Regions from separate parts of the Homo sapiens genome. Here region 2 is linked to region 1. The links are contacts of gene promoters, found by promoter capture Hi-C in human tissues and cell types (Jung and others, 2019). All regions are on one chromosome and are shown on one strand. The core of a region is centred on a gene start or on the middle of the fragment in contact, and the rest is flanking DNA. Distances in the headings are between cores, read along the strand shown. Region 1 holds the start of C17orf58 (chromosome 17 open reading frame 58). Region 2 holds the start of MIR635 (microRNA 635).

The links. Contacts are between HindIII fragments. The study calls those that stand out against the background at their distance.
Region 2: a contact is called between a fragment that was not itself captured here and the fragment with the promoter of C17orf58 in region 1, in 1 of the 25 tissues and cell types used here (pancreas).

What each region holds. Positions count from the first base shown.
Region 1 is chr17:67,994,219-67,998,877 of GRCh38, forward strand. C17orf58 (chromosome 17 open reading frame 58) reads right to left here and starts at 2,251. Exons shown (of 4, transcript NM_001382359.1): 1 at 1,905-2,251. The coding sequence starts at 1,980. RefSeq lists a silencer at 1,481-1,570. The HindIII fragment of the contact is 9,773 bases long and covers 1-2,456 here.
Region 2 is chr17:68,422,222-68,426,880 of GRCh38, forward strand. WIPI1 (WD repeat domain, phosphoinositide interacting 1) reads right to left here. Exons shown (of 13, transcript NM_017983.7): 12 at 3,854-3,954. It overlaps MIR635 (microRNA 635), which reads right to left and starts at 2,327; the gene lies at 2,230-2,327. It also overlaps a transcript of ARSG not described here and a transcript of PRKAR1A not described here. The HindIII fragment of the contact is 3,571 bases long and covers 19-3,589 here.

The DNA.
Region 1 (4,659 bases), core at 1,001-3,500:
CAGGCACCTGCAAGAGGAGAGATGGGAGGGAGGCCCGGAGGCCTGGAAGTGAAGCAGGGAGAACCCGGACGCAGCGTCGCGGCCAAGCGGGGCACGCGCTTCCCAGGCCCCAAAGGAAGAAGGATACGAGGGTCTTGACCTCTAAGATTATAGCTTTTAAAATTACAACCCCCTATTTACTCTAAGACTAAACATGTCTTACAACACTGGTTAGATAACAAACTTTTTTGCCCTTCCTTTAATATATACGTATATGTGTGTATGTGTGCGTGTGCGTGTGTGTGTGTGTGTGTGTGTGTATATATATATATATATATAAAACATATATAAACATCCGCCTCTTTGCTATTTACAGTTTGTTGAGAAAGTACCAAGAGCAAACCCCAGGGGGAAAGGTCTCATATTACAGGTTCTCCTAATTCTTTAAGCGCCCCTGACAACAGAACTATTTGGTTTTCCCATCCATGTTTACACTGTCATCCCGGTCTCTGCAGAATCGAGCATTTGTAAGTGGATTTTTATCTGGCTTCTTGGACACCACTTACTGGTAAACCACAGCTAAGGAAGGTTTTAAAAGCTTGGCTGGGAGGCAGAGAGGCCCCTGGTTAAGTATAAAAGCACACGTCGCTTACATTTTTTTCCCCATTAGATGATGGAGGAAAGACTCCTAAATGGTATGGCATGAAAACAAATTTTTAAAATTATTAATGATTTTCCCTAGTTCTGCAGACAGGTTGGTGAGTAAACCTCAGCCAGCTTGGGAGCTGGGCACCTTTCCATACCAGTTACACAATTTCACCTCCTTGCTTGCCTGGGTCCCAGTGCCCTCCAAACAGGCAAGAACTAGCCTTTATTTTTCTCTCCCCTTGCATTAAAGAGATGGATCTGCCCATTTGCAGCTCTGGCAACACTTCATTTAAAGTTGATCAGTCTTGCCAAATCGATAATCTGCTTTAAAATCAGCTTTCACCCAGCAATAATAGCTGGTTAGAGTTCATGTTTTTGCAAAGAGGTTGATTCTGACTCATTATGTTGTTAAACGGTTGTGCCATGCACAGCTGAATAAAGTTCTGGTGGATATCCAATTCCTGACTGTCAACTGTTGACCTCACAACTGCTTCCCCATTGATATAACCATCTGTTGTCATGGGAAAGATTGTCTGATATTTGGGTTAAATGCCACTGAAGTCATTCAATTTCCATGTGGAAAAATAACCCAGAGTAAATTGCCCTGTGAGGTACGGAAACTGTTTTTCCCAGAGATAGCGAAGCCGACAGAACATCCAAATAAAAGCAAAACAAAAACACGATCCCCCAGAGAACCCCTCATTTCTTCACGGGCTGAGTAACTTAATTTCATTTCGTGCATGAAGTATAAGAGTGTGTGCGTGTTAGTTAAACCCCGGCTCAGGTGTCCCAAGGTTGTGCGCTGGGGCTGCGGGGAGAGCAAAGTGCCCGGGGCTGCCGGATTTCGGCCCCGCTTCCCCCCAGCCCTCCACAGCGCCCCCCGCAGCCCCTGCTCACCCAGTCGAGGGGGGCGGACCCCGCGGCGTCCTGCGAGCCCGGCCCGGGCACGGCTCCCGAAAGGCGCGCCACGACCCCTTTTGACACTTTCCCTCCTCCGTGATGGAGCAACTACTTAACATGCAAAGTTTTCCCCAGCCTGCCCGGCTTGCTCGGGATCATTTCAGTAGCTAAATTGGCTTCTTTCCGAAAAGGCTGCCAAGAGACACGAAACCTTGGGGACACACTTTGCTCCTTTATAAGACGAACGCAGACCCGGGGTGTCCTCTCTTGCGAGCTCTGACCCCCCTCCTCGTCCCACGTTTCACTGAGCCTCCTTCCCAGCTCCCCCCCACAGATCCCCGCTCCGCTCCCAGGGCCCCGCACTACACCAATCTTACTTTTTCTCTCCGCCACCGGTGCTTCGGGGGATGATCCGACGATCAAACAGAGGAGCCAGAAAGCTCTAGCTGTCATTTTTGCAGACAGGGTTCCCAGGCTCTAAAAGTGAGCCTGGTCTTTTGCTTGCTTTCTCTCCCCCAACCCCTTCTCCACACCCCCACCCCCGTTCATGCTAATGAGGGGCAGCCTTTGGGGAAACGGGAATCACTCGCTGAGCAGACCATTGGAACAAAACCGAGCCGCAGGGATTTCTCCCTCTTCCTTCCTAAGGAGGACGAGCACATGGCCTTGCAAAGTTGTCCCCGGGAATGTCTGTCCTGTGATCTGCGGGCGAGGAGAGCATCACAGCCTAAACTTTAAACCTGTGTGCGTTTGCGCGCTGGGGTGGGGGCAGCAAAGGGTGGGGTGACAAGTGCAGAGAATAAGCGTGTTTCGGGACTGAGGGACTGGGTGGGGGAGAACGAGTGACGGGAGCTTTTTTCTAGATTAGGTCAACAACAAATAGGAAAATAGTGCTTAAGACAGCGTGGGTTTGTGGAAGGGAGATTCCAGATGACAGAGAATGTATCCTGGAATGTGTGTGTTAGGCAATTTCTAGAGAAACCAAGTCACTGCTTCCTTAGTAAAACTGTTTCATTATATATCACAGCTCATTGTAACCTCTGCCTCCCGGACTAAAGCGATTCTCGTGCCTCAGCCTCTCAAGTAGCTGGGATTACAGGCATATGCCACCATGCGAGGCTAATTTTTGTATTTTTAGCAGAGACGGGATTTCACCGTGTTGGCCAGGCTGGTCTCAAACTCCTGACCTCAAGTGATCCACCCACCTTGGCCTCCCAAAGTGCTGGGATTACAGCATGAGCCACCACGCCGGGCCCAGAGGTCTAATTATTAATCAGAATGTTGCCTGTTGAGGCCAGGCAGGGTGGTTCATGCCTGTAATCCCAGTACTTTGGGAGCCCGAGACAGGAGGATCTCTTGAGCTCAGGAGTTCAAGACCAGCCTGAGCAACATGGAGAGAACCTGTCTCTACAAAAAATACAAAAATTAGCCAGGCATGGTGGCTCGCATCTGTGGTCCCAGCCACTTGGGAGGCTGAGGTGGGAGGATCACTTGAGCCTAGGAGGTGGAGGTTGCAGTGAGCCGAGATTGTGCCACTGCACTCCAGCCTGGGTGACAGAGAGAGGCCCTGTCTCAAAAAAAAAAAAAAAAAAAAAAGAAGAAGAAGAAGAAGAAGAAAGAAAAGAAAGAGGAGGAGCCAGGCACAGTGGCTCACGCCTGTAATCCCAGCATTTTGGGAGGCCAAGGCAGGCGGATCACGAGGTCAGGAGTTCAAGACCAGCCTGGCCAAATTAGTGCAACCCTGTCTCTACTAAAATTACAAAAAAGTTAGCAGGGTGTGGTGGCACACACCTGTAGTCCCAGCTACTCAGGAGGCTGAGGCAGGAGAATCGCTTGAACCTGGGAGGCAAAGGTTGCAGTGAGCTGAGACTATGCCATTGCACTCCAGCCTGGGTGATAGAGTGAGACTTTTGTCTCAAAAAGAAAAAAAAAAAGAGGAGGAGGAGGAGAACGAAGAAGAAGAAGAAGGAGAGCAGGGCCAGGTGTGGTGGCTCACGCCTGTAATCCCAGCACTTTGGGAGGACAAGGTGGGTCGATCACGAGGCCAGGAGATCCAGACCATCCTGGCTGACACAGTGAAACCCCGTCTCTACTGAAAATACAAAAAATTAGCCGGGCGTGGTGGCGGGCGCCTGTAGTCCCAGCTACTCAGGAGGCTGAGGCAGGAGACTGGCGTGAACCTGGGAGGCGGAGCTTGCAGTGTGGCGCCACTGCCCTGCCCTCCAGCCTGGGTGACAGAGTGAGACTCTGTCTCAAAAAAAAAAAAAAAAAAAAAAAAGAAGGAGAGGAGGAAGAGGAGGAGGAGGAGGAAAGAAGTTTGCCTGTTGAGCATTAAATCAAAGAAAATAAATTTGCTGGCTGGGTGCGGTGGCTCAACCTGTAATCCCAACACTCTGGGAGGCCAAGGTGGGCAGATCACGAGGTCAGGAGTTCGAGACCAGCCTGGCCAACATAGTAAAACCCCATATCTACTAAAAATACAAAAATTAGCGAGTCATGGTGGCGGGCACCTGTAATCCCAGCTACTTGGGAGGCTGAGGGAGGAGAATCGCTTGAACCCAGGAGGCAGAAGTTGCAGTGAGCCAAGACTGCGCCACTACACTCCAGCCTGGGCAACAGCACAGGACTCTGTCTCAAAAAAAAAAAAAAAAAAAGAAAAAGAAAAAGAAAAAAAAGAAAAGAAATTTGCCTGTTGAGCATTAAATCAAATTGCAGCTAAGGAGATGAGCTAATCTTCCCTCATTCAGGTGTTAGAGGAGTGAATTATATTCTCCATCCAAAAGAGTAAACCTCTACAGCCCCTGCAAAGCTTGGGTATACCAGAGTCAGGGTCTCCAGACCCTAGACAAGACCAGATAAACACTAGTAAATTCATGCCCTTGGGGCCCTGTTTATAGATGTCCTCAGATCCCCTTCTTTCACGTGCTCTTTCTTTAAGTCAAGTGGAATAAAATTCACTAGGCTTAAGATTTCTCAGTTACAACCACATCTCTAACATACCTTCTTACCATTACATTCAAATCACCCAGAACCTATTGGGGGTGTTCCCGAAACTCTTCTGTTGCAGGAATGTTGTGAATGCCCTGAAACCCACACCCTGAAATGTAGAGGCAGGGAGCAGGCTGGATGGCT
Region 2 (4,659 bases), core at 554-3,053, 430 kb after region 1:
TTGAGACCAGCCTGGCCAACATGGTGAAACCCCATCGCTACTAAAAAATACAAAAATTAGCCGGGCATGGTGGCGCTCACCTGTAATCCCAGCTACTCGGGAGGCTGAGGCAGGAGAGAATCGCTTGAACCGGGGAGGTGGAGGCTGCAGTGAGCCGAGATCGCACCACTGCACTCCAGCCTGGGCGATGGAGCAAGACTCCATCTCAAAAAAAAAAAAGTCAGTTTAGGCTGGGCGCAGTGGCTCACACCTGTAATCCCAGCACTTTAGGAGGCTGAGGGGGGTGATCACCTGAGGTCAGGAGTTTGAGACCAGCCTGGCCAACATGGTGAAATCCTGTCTCTACTAAAAATACAAAATTTAGCTGGGCATGGTAGCATGCCTGAAACCCCAGCTACTTGGGAGGCTGAGGCACTAGAATCACTTGAACCTAGGAGGTGGAGGTTGCAGTGAGTGGAGATCACGCCAACACATTCTAGCCTGAGGGACAGAGTGAGACTCTATCATCTCAAAAAAAAAAAAAAAAAAAAAAAAGGGAAGGTCAGTTTATACCCTTGGGCCTGATTTCCTGACTCTTGCTCACAAGATTGGGACTAGTCTCACAAAATACAGAGACTTGTACAGGTTGGCTTGTTCCTGAAACAAAAGCTTCTCATCCTCCCGAATGTAGCAGCTTTCTAAGGCACCAGAAATGATCAAGTCTCTTTTCTTTCACTGCTCTCAGAGCAAAAGTAAATCCCAAGGAGGCAAGCGTGATCCTACGCAGGGAAGTGTCAGTATGTGTTCTGAAAAGATCACTAGTGATGACCCGCGTTCTTAAGGCAGCGGCTCACAGAGCTCCTGTAGCAGACTACTCAGGCAAGCCTATGTTTGTTCGTCACTACAAGAGAGGCGATTTTAACCAAGCTGAGACTCCAAGAGCCTTTTGTGGTCCTAGAAGATTTTAAGGAATGTGAGTAAAGATGTGAATTCTGCACAGAGATTTGCAATAGGCATGACAATTCAGAATAAGGAGACAGAGAGGAAGTTCCCTAGCATCCCTCGCTGAACATTTCTGCCAATTCAGGCATGACTGAGATGGGCCATATTGATAGAGCATCCCAGGAGCATGCATGCCTCTGGTCCTTACATGGTGAGATGGAGAAGCCTGCCTGCTACTGAGACAGTGCCTTAGTGGGAGCACTGCCCCTCATCACCATCTACCTGCAGGCTGGAGGGCAGACTGAGAGGTTGGTGGCTGCCACGACACAGCCCTGCACACAGGGGCTGCTTGACACTCACAAGGGTCTAACACCTGTTCTAGGGACCTTGTTCAGTGACCACTCTCACTGGCAGGAAGTATTTCTTGCGTATAAATAAGAATTCCTGATGCAATTTCAACCAACTTTCACTCATTTGGTCCTTAGGAGGGAGAAGAAACAACTGGCTCATGCCCAGCTTCCTGGCACTGAATGGGCACACAGGCCTCAGGACAAACTTTCTTACTGGTTCTTCAATTAAGCACCTCCCCTTTTCCTTTTTACCCCAAATAAATGATCTGCACAAGGTACCTATTATTTTATACAGGTTCTTTGGCAAGGAACTACCTCCTAGATACTAATATCCACATTACCCCAATTCTGTAACTATAAGAGGTTGCAAGGCTTACTGCGATTACAATTAAGAATCTAATAATATTTTATAGTAGTTACAGACTTTTACCAAAATTAGTGAAACGGAACCTAGTGAGTGTCTGGATGTGGTAAACCCTGACAGAGTAGAATGGTCACATTTGTCCCCACGGTGTCTGACCTAGAGTGCTCTGGATCCTGGAAGCCTCGACTTCAGGTAAATAACCACCGCCTCTTGAGGGTGCAGAAGAACGCCCTTTAAGGCCAGTTGGGGCCATGAGAACCCAAAGGTAAAACAACTGGTTTATAGTTAGGCAGCATGCCAACAGAGGTTTTGAAGTTTATAATTAGTATTTTTAAGAACAACTGCTCTCCGCCACTGAGATATAAACTTCACTTGCCAGCCACGTCTCTGACAACCTGCCTATTGAAAGCCAGAAATGTAAAAGCTCACGCTGCGACCGACCCGCAGAGCCGATGTGGGAAATCACAAAACAACAGCCCCAGCCCTGCATGCAGGGCCCCACCGCAGCTTTGTTTTCTAAGCCAAATGTGCTCACTAGAGGGTTCCACGGATCTGCGGGAGAAAGAAGCCAGACCTGCACTCCATCCTTTTACAATTGGAAGCTCAATGGACACAAAACAATGATCAGGAGAAGTTTCCATAACAAAGCCTAATGGACATTGTTTCAGTGCCCAAGTGGCAGCTCCTCTCTGGCTCTAGGAGCTGATGCTCCAAGTCTTGGCCCAAACACTACTTCCGGCCGGGTGCGGCGGTTCACGCCTGTAATCCTAGCACTTTGGGAGGCCGAGACGAGTGGATCACTTGAGGTCAGGAGTTTGAGACCAGCGTGACCAACATGGTGAAACCCCGTCTCTACTAAAAATACAAAATATTAGTTGGGCATGGTGGCGCACATCTGTAATTGCAGCTACTCGGGAGGCTGAGGCAGGAGAATTGCTTGAACCCAGGAGGCAGAGGCTGCAGCGAGCCGAGATCACACCACTGCACTCCAGCCTGGGTGACAGAGCAAGACTCCGTCTCAAAAACAAAACAAAACAAATCAGTACTTCCATCTCGAAATGATTTCAGGTTGACTATCTGGGATGTTTTGACTGAAGCTCACAAGAGCGGTCTATATGTTACTCCAGATGGGAGCCTGAAGAATCAGCAGTTAAGGAAGCCCCAGCAGGCTCTCAGGAGGGAATCTTGTCTTCAGTTCCAGGTGATGGAAGAAGCCACGCCCAGCACTCAGCCAGCCCCGAGGGCCCTAGCTGTGGGAACAGGCTGAGCAGGTTGCTGGGAAACCCAGCTAAAGGTGCTCGGGCAAGCTCCTGCCCTGCACCTGCTGCCCTCCACAGAGCACACAATTGCTTTTCTTTTCTTTTTGAGATAGAGTCTCACTCTTTCACCTAGGCTGGAGTGCAGTGGCACAATCAGAGCTCACTGCAGCCTCGACCTCCCAGGCTCAGGTGATCCTCCCATCTCAGCGTCCCGAATAGCTGGGACTACAGGCACGTGACACCACACCCGGCTAATTTTTTCTTTTCTTTTTTTTTTTTTTTTTTGGTGGAGATGGGGTTTTGCTGTGTTGCCCAGGCTGGTCTCTAACTCCTGGGCTCAAGCAATCCTCCAGCCTCGGCCTCCCAAAGTGCTGGGATTACAGGTGTGAGCCACCGCACCCGGCCACTTGTTTCTTAATGAGTGTCTGCAACTGCTGGGGAGGTGCGGGTCTGCCGGCCAGAGCTGCAGGTAAGTGAGGGTCAAGCTGGTTCACAGAGTGCAGCAACTCAGCTCAGAGTCCTGAACACACAGCCCAGCCCTCTGAAACCATCCCCTCCAGCACAAGGAAGGCAGCATTCTGCAAACGCATCCATGGGAGCCTCAGGAAAATAAGTTTTAGACAAGTCACGTGTTCCTACCTTCCAGGCAGCAAAGTCAGTGCTACAGAAGCAAAGTAAGGGATCGCAGGCCTCTGGCTGGAGGGAGGCCACCAAGACTCCCTGGATTAGTATTCGGTGACTCTAATGCCATCAGGGTTTAGCTCGACACCTAAAGCCTACTCTGTAGGATTCGAAGCACACAGTACAACAAATATCCTATGGCTTTCCAAATACTAGAGCAGAGAATTAGTTGTTATAGATTAGAAAACAGGGAAAGGGACTCTGCCTCTCGTATGAGGCGAAGGTTTCCTTCTAAGCACACAGACTGAGCCGCCCAGTTACGGGTTCCTAATGCTCACAGGAGGAAACTCATTCTCATCATCAAGACACACTGGTCCCGTCGCAAACTCATGTTCAGGAATAACTTCTCCTCGCAGCGCCCCGCCGTCCTCAGAATAACCTGGAAACCAAGAAAGAGACATGAAACAAGCACTGGGGATCTGCTTTTATGCCATGACCTGGCGGGTGGGGAGCGGGGGCTCAAATAAAGGGCAAAGGAAGCAAAGGGGCTGTCTGTCTTCCCCCTGGAGGTACTGTGCCTAGGACAAGTCATAATCCTCACCATCTGCCATCTTTAAGCCTGACCTGCCTTTCCACTTCAGATGCCTGAGGCATCCTACCTCTTTGAATTTTTCTTTGTTGAGGTAGGGTCTCAGTATGTTGCCCAGGCTGGTCTCGAACTCCTGAGCCTAAGGGATCCTTCTGCCTCAATTTAACTTCCTGAGTGGCTAGGACTACAGGCTCTTTGGAAATTTTAGTTTAGTTTTTATTTTTTGAAACAGAGTCTCACTCTTTCACCCAGGCTGGAGTGCAGTGGTATGATCTCAGCTCACTGCAATCTCCGCCTCTCTGGTTCAAGCAATTCTCCTGCCTCAGCCTCCGGAGTAGCTGGGATTGCAAGTGTGTGCCAACATGCCCAGCTAATTTTTCTATTTTTTAAGTAGAGATGGGGTTTCACCATGTTGGCTAGGCTGGTCTCAAACCCCTGGCCTCCAGTGATCCGCTGGCCTCAGCCTCCCAAAGTGCTGGGATTACAGGTGTGAGCCAATGTGCCTGGCCTCATTGGAATTTTTGAAGAGGCAAAGGGTTAACACCACTTGTTAGG